Linked DNA regions of Homo sapiens: region 2 is linked to region 1. Evidence: promoter capture Hi-C in human tissues and cell types (Jung and others, 2019). All regions are on one chromosome and are shown on one strand. Each heading gives the region's core, a stretch centred on a gene start or on the middle of the fragment in contact. The rest is flanking DNA. Distances are from core to core; before and after follow the strand shown. Region 1 holds the start of RPL32 (ribosomal protein L32). Region 2 overlaps NUP210 (nucleoporin 210).

Region 1 (5,052 bases), core at 2,467-4,966:
GAATTTTTCATTCCACTGCCCTAGTTTTAATCTAAGCAGGTCACTGAGTCTTTTATACACAAAGCTCACCAAGTGTCTAACTTACTCAAAACACCTAGAACTAGCTGGGTGTGGTGGAGTGTGCCTGTGGTCCTAGCTACCAGGAAGGCTGAGATAGGAAGACAGCTTGAGCCCACCTTGAGTTTGGGGCTGCGGTGTGCCATGATCACAGCTGTGAACAGCCACTGCACTGTAGCCAGGGCAACACAGAGCCTGTCTATCTCTAAAATCAAACCAGGCCAGGCATAGTAGCTCATGCCTGTAATCCCAGCATTTTGGGAGGCTAAGGCAGGCAGACCGCTTAAGGTCATGAGTTCAAAACCAGCCTGGCCAACATGGTGAAACCTCATCTGTACTAAAAATACAAAAATTAGCCAGGAATGGTGGTGCACGCCTGTAATCCCAGCTCTTGGGAGGGTGAGGCAGAAGAAACGCCTGAAACTGGGCGGTGGAGGTTGCAGTGAGCCGAAGTCATGCCACTGCACTCCAGCCCCGGCAAGAGAGCAAGACTTCATCTTAAAAAACAAAAACCAATAAAACCCACCTGGAACCAATGCCCTGCAAACCCTCCATGTGCTTTCACCTCTACACCTTTGTGTAAGCACTCTCTGCCTGCCAAGTTTCCTCCTGTTCTCCATCTAATGCAAACTTTCCAGAGCCCTCCTGCCCCTGAAGATACCCCTTACCACAGCACAGACTTAAGAGCCCCTTAAGGTCTGAGGTCCATGTTTGACCTTCTCCCGCTTGTAAGCCAAAAATAAAATTCAAAGGCCCCCAGCAACCATCTGAATGCACTCCCTCCTTGAATAGGGCACTCTTGGTTTCCACAACCTCTTACTGTAGCCAAGACATTCCTTTCTAGTGATAACCAATTCTCGACGAGAAACAGAAAATCTATCCAAAACCTCGAAGTGCCGCCTTTCTGGACCAAACCAATGTATGCCTTATGTGTATTTGATTGATGTCTCATGTCTCCCTAAAATATGTAAAACCAAGCTGCTCCCCGCCCACCTTGGACACATATTCTTAGGGTCTCCCAAGGGCTGTGTCACGGGCCATGGTCAACTCATATTTGGCTCAGAATAAATCTCTTCGAATATTTCAGAGTTCAACTCTTTTGCTTGACACCTTCATAAAGAAAGCAACATTTTGGAAACAACAGCCAAAGGATATTGTAGTAGTGGAAAGTGGCTATTATTGCAGTGTTCACAAAGCAGTCTTTTCCTGGTCTTGGGTCTCTACACTTAGAAGACCAAGTCACCTCCTTCAGCAAAGGAAACACCTTGAATTCCCCAACAAGCATTCTCTAAAATCCTGCAAGGAACAACTTCTGATTCCCTCAGAGAATGTACAACACCCCCCGCCAAAATGCATCCCAAGAGTTTGTAGAGTTCCTGCCAGAAGTGCTCACACAGATGCAAACTTCTGATCACTGAAAACTAGAGGTGGGACCCAACTCACTTGTTGCACATCAGCAGCACTTCCAGCTCCTTGACGTTGTGGACCAGGAACTTCCGGAAGCCACTGGGCAGCATGTGCTTTGTTTTTTTGTTGCTTCCATAACCAATGTTGGGCATCAAGATCTGGCCCTTGAATCTTCTACGAACCCTGTTGTCAATGCCTCTGGGTTTCCGCCAGTTACGCTGAAGGAAATAATACACAGGTGGGTTAGCGTCTGTGCAGAGTGCGAACTCTTCCTTTTGGGGAGGGAAAAAAAGGACCAAATGAAAAGGAAGTATGCCACACAGTAGTTGCCTTTGGTAACAGGACTTCACTATTTCCTTACTTTTTTGGTGGGAAAAACCAGGAGCTCGTGGCTTTAGCCACTAGGGATGAAGGCACCCCCACCATTGCCACTCCCAAGCAATGGAGGAGGCACCAATGGGATGCGAGGGGACTGTGTAGATACTGAGATGGCAAGCACAGCTGCAGACACTGCTCTCAGCACCTGAGTTTTCTTGTCTATAAAATAGGGATCCTGCTGTCACAAGGCAACCCAAAATACAGGACACAAATGCAAAGCCCTCTGAACACATCAAAACGGCCAAATGTCCCTTTTCATTAAAGTTTCGCTTCACACATCAAGAGACATAAGTACCAGCACTAGGGCACACTGGGGGAGACCTGTATTTCTACAGAAAGCTCTTCCACAAGCCAGTTCATCGGTCAAAGATAATCCTGACTAGGTGATGTCAGAAACTGTTGGAAACTCTTTTCTTCACCCCACACCCATTTCCATCCCAGGACCACATACCTTAATTTTGACATATCGGTCTGACTGGTGCCGGATGAACTTCTTGGTTCTCTTTTTGACGATCTTGGGCTTCACAAGGGGTCTGAGGGCGGCCATGATGCCTTTTGGGGAAGAAGCGGCCCCAGGTGAGGAAGAATCCTGGAAGGAGGCTTTCCTGCCCAGGGACTGAACACTGTCGCAGAGTGTCTTCCAATCGCCAGCTACGGAGCAAGCTGGGAATGGAATGGGTGCCTCTGCCAGGCTTGCTTTCCCTCCCTTTCCGAAGCTGGCAGAATACTAGGCACTCTCCAGATGCGATCCCAGGAGGTCAAGGGTCACCTCACCCACTCAGAGCCCAAAGAATGCCAACAGCTGAGCAAATCAAAACTGACCCCAAGACACTCTCAATTTGCAAGGGGCAGCAAATCCCACCCCACCAGTGTCCGAACCCCCAGATGGTCCTTCCGGTAGTACTGGCCTTGACCATCTACTTGAACCTGAGTCTTTTCCTCACCTGTAAAATGAAGATGACACTGCGCGCTGAATGCCTGCAGTGCCTGTCACAGGGTAAATGTTCAATAAAACCTTCTAATTCCCTAGGGAGCTGCTGCGCTACCACACCCTCAACACACACAAAACCACCATATACCTCTGAAGATGCCTCAAACCTGGAGATCTTCCAGTATCAACTCACACCTTCCTCAGTGTGGTCTTCCGAGCCATTGATTTCCTACAGCAGCACCCCTTCTGCTCTCTTCGCAGCCATCAACTGGCCCAGAGTGGGTACTCAATGAACCACGTATTCAAAACGACTCTGCCTTCTGGCCCATGATATCCTCGAAGGCAAGGTGGGGGCAGTTGCATCTTCATATTCCCAGAGATACTACCAGAATTTCTGCCTGCAGCTGGACCAGCCGACCTACAGCTCGTCTTTCCTTGGCGGTCCCGCAGCAGCAGCCCTCGGGCCAGAGACTGCAGCGGAAGAAGCCGGCCATGGCATGAACGAATACACGTGGGCCGACATTGGTGAGCGCTGGGATCCACAGATCCCAGCTGAAAGCTGTCAAGCTGGGCCACCCCTGGTCGTCCCACGGCCCCCAGGAGACCCCGAAGTCTGGCCTCAACTAGCACCCTCCACCGCCAAGGAACAAACAAGCAGCCCGCAGCTCTGAATACAGGCGGAGGGCAGGAGGCTCTGGGACGCAAAGCCCTATCAACTCGGCGGCTTCGTTCTGTTCCTGTACACGCTCCAGTAAGCTGACAATAACAATACCCACAGACACTACCGCGCTGAAGGGGAGGCCTCCGCACCACTGGGCGACGGGGCCAGATGAATCCCGCAGGAATGCGGATTGCCACGGATTAACACTTACCGAGAAGGAGATGGCTGCCACCTCCGTAGGCAGCGCCGAGGAAGAGAGAAGGGACGGTGGCGCGCAAGGGCTGATGGGTCGTAACCCCTGGGTCCTAGCAGGGAAAAAGGCAAGCACTTCCGGCTCCGGCTCTTTTAAATAAAATAAAGACACGTCAAAAAATAATGCCGCAAAAATTCTGAGTATACATGTTTTAATAGACAATAATAACTAGGAATAGGACTGAGAAATGTATTCTACCTATCCTTGGGACTACGTAGAAATTTGGAATTCTTTCTGAGCTAATAAGACCTGGTGGAGGGAGGAATTTACTTCCGCCAGAAGTCGAAGCCAATCCGCTTTTGGGCTATTTCCGCCCGCGTTTCTTCTACTCCGAAGTGCGCCTCTTAGTGGTCAGAAGAGAACAAGACAGAGACTTCCTAATAATTTCATCACCGAATTTAGACAGTAAATAGTAACGAAAACAGCTAACATGCGATGGAGTTCACTATGCCTACCACAATTCTATAACGTACCCCTATTATTGTCTCCATTTTGCATATGTGGAAGATGAAATTTGGAGACTTGACTCCAAACTCCACGCTTCTAACCACTGGGCGAAACTGCCTAGTTTTTCTTTGTTCATTTTTTAGAAATGGGGTCTCACTCTGTTGCCCAGGCTGGTCTTGAACTCCTGGGCTCAAACGATTCTCTCGCCTCAGCCTCCTGAGTAGCTGGGATTACGGGCACGAGCTACTGCCTAGATGTTTTTTGTTTTGTTTTGTTTTTTGGTTTTTGGTTTTTTTTAGACAGGGCCTCCCTCTGTCACCTAGGCTGGAATGCAAAGGTGCCATCTCACGGCTCACGGCAGCCCCTGCCTCCCAGACTGCCTAGTTTTTAAAGATGCTCTTGATTTGTTTTGCTTAGCTTTTGTATTTAAGATTATTGTGCAAATTGGCTGAGCACTATGGTTCACACCTATAATTCCAATACTTTGGGAGTCTGAGGTGGGAGATTTGCTTGAGCCCAGGAGTTCAAGACCGGCCTAGGCAACATAGTAAGACCCTGTCTCTACAAAAAATAAAATAATTAGCTGGGGCTGGTGGCGCATGCCTGTAGTCCCAGTTACTCGAGAGGCTGAGCTGGGATGATCACGTGAGCCCAGCAGTTCTAGACTGCAGTTAGCTGTGATAATGCCACTGCACTCCAGCCTGAGTGACAGAGCAAGACTCTGTCTCAACAACAACAAACCTATAAAGACAAATAACCCAATTGAAAAATGGGTAAAGAATCCAAATAGACATTTCTCTGTGGCCAATGAACACATGAAATGATCCACATCATTAGCCATCAGGGAAATACAAACTGGAACTGCAGTGAGATACCATTTCACACTCACTAGGACAGAGAAATGGGAATGTCCGTACA
Region 2 (5,106 bases), core at 1,627-4,126, 490 kb after region 1:
AGAAGTGTGGACTGCGTGGGGTGACAGTTTGGGTTAGGGATCATGGCTGCATCCTTGCCTCCACCACACCTTCTGACCCTGAGTGCTGACTAGGTCTCTATCAGGTGCTCCTGCTACAAGAAGGCCAGAATGACCTGCAGTGCAGCCAAAGGGCTGGGAGAACTGGGCTCCATTTCCTCCAGGACATGCCCTAAACTGATGGATGGCAATTATGTGCGCACACACGGAGTGCCATGGTTTGCCAGCGGTCCTCATGACCACTCCCTCAGCTGAAGGAAAGCCCTGGAACCTAGGCCATATTGCCCAACGTGAGAGGTGTGGAAACAGATTTTTGGATGGTGACCTACTCACAGGGCCCACGAAGGGCAGAGCTGGGGCTAGAACCAGGCCTGACTCTAAACCCCAGTTCTTTCCATAAGGCAACACCCCTGACACCTGTCTTTGAATGCATTCAGCAACAGGGAAACACAACTGTGGCAGGACCTGTGGGCAGCCGAAGCTGAAGGGCCAATTTCCTGTGCCTCGGGGAGCACTCCCTGGAGCTGCCCCATGCCCTGTTTCCTCCTTTGGGGGCTGATGCCTGTCTGTCTTCCTCTGAGCTGGTCTACATCCCCCAAGGGCAGTGGTGTTTCCTCGTGGCCCTGCATGGTGCAGCATGCCCACATCTCTTGGAAACTGAAGTAATACACATCTTCCTTCAACAGCAGCAGACTTTCTGTGTTATCCCCAGTTGTCTCTACCAGGTACCAGACAGGACTTCATAGGAGAAATGACCCTTGCCCACATCCTACCTGTTAGTGGCAAAGTTGAGGACCGAACTGTGAGCATGGAAGACATCTCCAGAGTTGTCGTGGAAGTGGACAGTGAAGGTCACGGTCATTCCCAAAGGCACGGCCACCAGGGCCTCCTTGTTCTGGGTGTGCAGGACAGGGCTCATGGAAACCCTCAGGTAGGAAACAGGGGATACCTAAGGGACAACATACAGGTATGATGAGGATTCAGTGCCAGGGACTGGCCTCCAGGAAAACCCACCTCCCAAGGAGGGGACACCTGCCCCCAGCAGGATCCACCTCAGGAACAATGCAGGGCTGGACTTAGGGGTCCTGAGAGGAGTAAAGGCCACACTCCCCAGAGTGTCCCAACCTAGTGACAAGGTTCTTACTTCCCAACACAGCAGACTGGCCTCTCTATGAGAAAACCCACCCAGGAGTGTCCCAATCCATGACTTGAATAAATGAGATCACTATTTACATTGCAAGAGGGCCCCCTGGGCTGCAAATGTCCAGTTTCTTCAGAGAACCTGGCTCTTGGGGCATTTAAAGAAACGAAATCCTCCTCGATCGCAGGGGCAGCGCTAAGCAGGCCACAGCATGCCCTGCAGGCCACCAGGGGAAGGAGGGAAATGGGGATTTCTGGAGCCCAAGAACCCGAGCTCCATAAACAGCAGCCCTTGTTTCTCTGAGTCCAGGTGAAAATCTATCCTCGCTCAAAAGCTAGTGCTCCAAAGGTCTGAATTTCTTTAACAAAGTTCAGTGGTGCAGTGTCTGGTATACAGCTAGTGCTCAGTACATATTTGTTGAAATAGGATGAGCAGTCAGTCACTTTCACTCACCAAAAACTAGAGCGGGGGATTTGCTGCCAGGCACCCATTTTGAAACAAAATGATGTGAATTAATGAAAGAGGTCTGTGACCCAGGCAGAGTCTAAAGATTTAAGTGAGTGTGTGTCTTCTGTCATCCAGGGTTCAGCAAGTGGTGATGATGAGACATGGAAAGAAAATTCCATTCAGCAAAACCCCAGGACCTGACCCAGGGATGCTGATGGAGAAGGTCCCATCCGTAAGGAACACAGAACGGCAGAGGGCAGTGCCATGATATGGCAGAAGGACACGGCCCAAACCAGACAGACCCCATCACTCAACCCCCATGCAAGCTTAAGCAAGTCACTCTCACTCTGAGCCTCAGTCTCCTTGTCTGGAAAATGGGCCACCTCATTCTCAAAACCACAGTGGATGTCACGTACTGGATGTCACGACTTGTATGGCAGGTACTGAGCACAACATTCAATGCTCTTAAGAACAGACCATGTTCCAGACACTGGGCTGGCCCAGAACAGGAGCTCCACCATGGGTGGTGATAACATCAGTGGCCAGGCACAGTGGGTGGAGCACCCGCACTCCAGTCAGGAAGCTGTGGTGCCAGTCCCAGCTCTGTAACCTTACGCCAATCATGGACCTTGCTGGGCCTCATCTATGAAATGAAGTTCTTGGAATCAATGATTTCCCAAGGATCTTCGGCTCTGATGACCAGAAGATGCTGTAGCTTTTTATCTACCTAGGACCTTTGCCCCTGAGTTACTCTAAATGCCTGTCTACAGTTTCTTAGCTGGAAGGTGAACGTATTCACTTTTACACCTGAGAGGCATATTACCTCAGTGCTATTGCTTTCATTACTCCAAAAAGGAGGAGAATGCAACCCTACCTTTACAGCAACAATGATGGTTTGGTTGGCCCCAAAGGGCTCTTGTGCAATCACTTCGATGGTGGATGTCCCGATCATAGACCCTGATGCTAGAAAGCCTTTCTCATCAACATGCACAACTGGAACCTTTTCGGGTCCATCCAGGACGCGGTAGCTCAGAGAGGCTGCACCATCCCTTTGGAAAACAAAACAGAGCTGTTTTTGTAGATGGCAGCAGTGGGAGTGGGCCTGGATACAATGCCAGGAGATCTAAGAGTCTGTGGCTCCTCATGCTCCTGGGAGGAAAAAAGGCCCAATCTTGGCCCCACGGACCTCAGGACCACGTGCCGTCAGTTGTCTGAGGCTTCATCAGTCACCCACGGAAAAGTAATTCAGAAATCCAATGGTTCCGAGCAAAGTGTGGCGTCTCACTCTTCCCAGAGCAGTGCCTGCCGTGGGTCAGCCAGCAGGGAGGGAGAGACTATGAGGGCAGTTTCTTTCATCAGCTCCATGGGACATCTACTGTAAAATATCATTTCTGCAGCAAATTGTTCTCAATTTACTGAAGCAAGGCATCCTGGCATAGTGGAGGATGGGGCTTTGAGTCCGACAGAATCCAAAGCCGGTCCCAACATGTCCTGCCACCAGCTGTGTGCACATTATGTCCCCTCTTCTCTCGGCGTTGACTTCTTACTTGGTAAAAGGTGTGTAATGATCCTGTCTTGTCCTATTTCTAAGGACTGTCAACAGGATAAAAACAGACTACCCGCTAAGAAAACTGTTAGCAAACTACTGATACTATGTACTGGGTAGGAAGCAAATTATGCCGTATCTGTTACCCTTTTACATATTTATTAATATAATAAAGAAACCCAGGAAGCAAAGGCCTCCAGCTCCCACGGCTAGTTTCCATCATCTCTGTCTCTTCCACAGCCCTATAGATGACTAGGAGCAAATGTTATTGCCTCTGCCTAAACATTCTTCCCCCACCAACCCCTTCCTCTTAACCTGGGGAACTCTTATTCATCCTTCAAGAACTGCAGCCCGAGCATCTCCATCTGGGACATGCCTCCCCTAAATCCCCATGGACAGCACCCTTCTTTGGGCTCTGGTTTGAATACTACACCTTGCTTTTTAATAGCCTTCTCCTGCTACCCTCCTCCGGGGCACCCTATGTCACCCATATCTGTGTTCCTGGAGCCCAGCATGGAGCCTGGCACTTTGTTACTTTTGGCTGAATGAAAACATGTATGTGTTTCATGCAACATGTAAGTGTCCTGTGGCCCGTGGAGTCTCCCGCTTGGCAACTGCCATTCAAATGCAAGCCACTGTTACGAAAGGCATCCCCTTGGAATCAAAGGTAGGAATTAGGTTTGCAGAAGAGCTTTAAACAGCTTTTCCCAAGCGTTACTGTGCGGCCCCCTCGCCTGGGGATCTCCCTAGGGTGCAGCTTCTCCCTGGGCAGGTCTGGGGTGGGGCTTGAGAGCTGCATCTTCTCTTCCCGGTGATGCTGATGCTTCTGGCTCATGGGCTACACTCTGAGTGGCAAGTCTTGAAACACAACATTTCTAAGCTGGTGTTTTTTTCCCTTTTAAAGACTGAATTTTAGTACCTCGCATAAAAATGTTTCTAGGCTACAAGGAGGAAAAAGAGACCCACAGTGAGAAGTGATTTCAAGAAGCAGAGGAGCACCACAGAGAAGAGAAGGAGCAGGCAGAGGCCTCACCCATTCCAAGCACAGCAGGAGAAAACCTCCCTGAAAGTACCCATGGCTCCTGACAGTGTTGACACATGAGGTGTCGGATGCAAGCACAGCCGCACAACTTTGCTGGAAACAAGAGCTGAGTCACGTACCTGTTTGTCTGCAGCTTTATATATGAGTTGGGCGACATTAATATTTGTTCTGCTTCTATTTCAGGGTTGAGCAGCTGCAGCTTCTCAAACACCTGCAAGAGAGGGCAAGTTTCACTTCCGATGGGGCACTGGAGTCACATTCAGGCCAGATGTCTGCTTCTCTCCTAGCAGCAAGAGCCGAGGAGGGGCCAGAGAGGAGAAAAGCGGCTTTCTCGTCTGTCAGGTCACTGATGACATGATGTGAAGGGCTGACCTTTAAGAGGCCAAAGGTGTGGCCGGGTAGAGTAGCTCAGCCAAGGCAACACAGCAAACCCTCAGTCTCTACAAAATAATTTTAAAAATTAGCCAGGCATGGAGTGTGCAACTGTAGTCCCAGCTACTTGGGAGGCTGAGGCTTGCACTCCAGTCTGAGCAACAGAGCAAGACCCTATCTCACACACACACACACACATGGCCAAAGATATGATGAGAAAAGACAGGCAGGCTCATGTTTGTGTAGTCTAATGGGAGCTCCTTCAAGGAGCCTGGAAACACAGGCCTCTCCCTCCGTGCCCAGTGAGGAAGAACTTTACCTGCCAGGATGTGAGCGCGGAGGGCAGCACACACAACTCCAGCACCAGGGTTTGCTCAGGATAACTGTGCCAGGACTGAGCCTGGGCAAGGTGCCACCGAACTGCTCCCTTCTCTCACAGAGACATCCTGCTCCTCACTGCCACCATCTCAGAACAACCCCCGTTCCACCTCCCAGGCTCCTCTGGCTGGCTCTGGCCATGTTCTTGCAGGATCCACATAG

The links. The method cuts DNA at HindIII sites, captures the fragments that hold promoters and counts their contacts. A contact is called where the count stands out against the background at its distance.
Region 2: a contact is called between a fragment that was not itself captured here and the fragment with the promoter of RPL32 in region 1, in 1 of the 25 tissues and cell types used here (spleen).

Annotation. Positions count from the first base shown.
Region 1 is chr3:12,837,849-12,842,900 of GRCh38, forward strand. It overlaps RPL32 (ribosomal protein L32), which reads right to left and starts at 3,717. Exons shown (of 4, transcript NM_000994.4): 1 at 3,646-3,717; 2 at 2,294-2,394; 3 at 1,501-1,682. The coding sequence starts at 2,389. SNORA7A (small nucleolar RNA, H/ACA box 7A) reads right to left here and starts at 2,602; the gene lies at 2,464-2,602. RefSeq lists enhancers at 2,077-3,015, 3,016-3,952, 4,046-4,295. The HindIII fragment of the contact is 28,801 bases long and covers 1-5,052 here.
Region 2 is chr3:13,327,980-13,333,085 of GRCh38, forward strand. NUP210 (nucleoporin 210) reads right to left here. Exons shown (of 40, transcript NM_024923.4): 29 at 4,314-4,405; 30 at 2,481-2,655; 31 at 792-967. Among named protein-coding and RNA genes, the nearest start is that of NUP210, 90 kb to the right of the region's middle. RefSeq lists a silencer at 2,780-2,947 and enhancers at 4,115-4,474, 4,795-4,844. The HindIII fragment of the contact is 4,318 bases long and covers 718-5,035 here.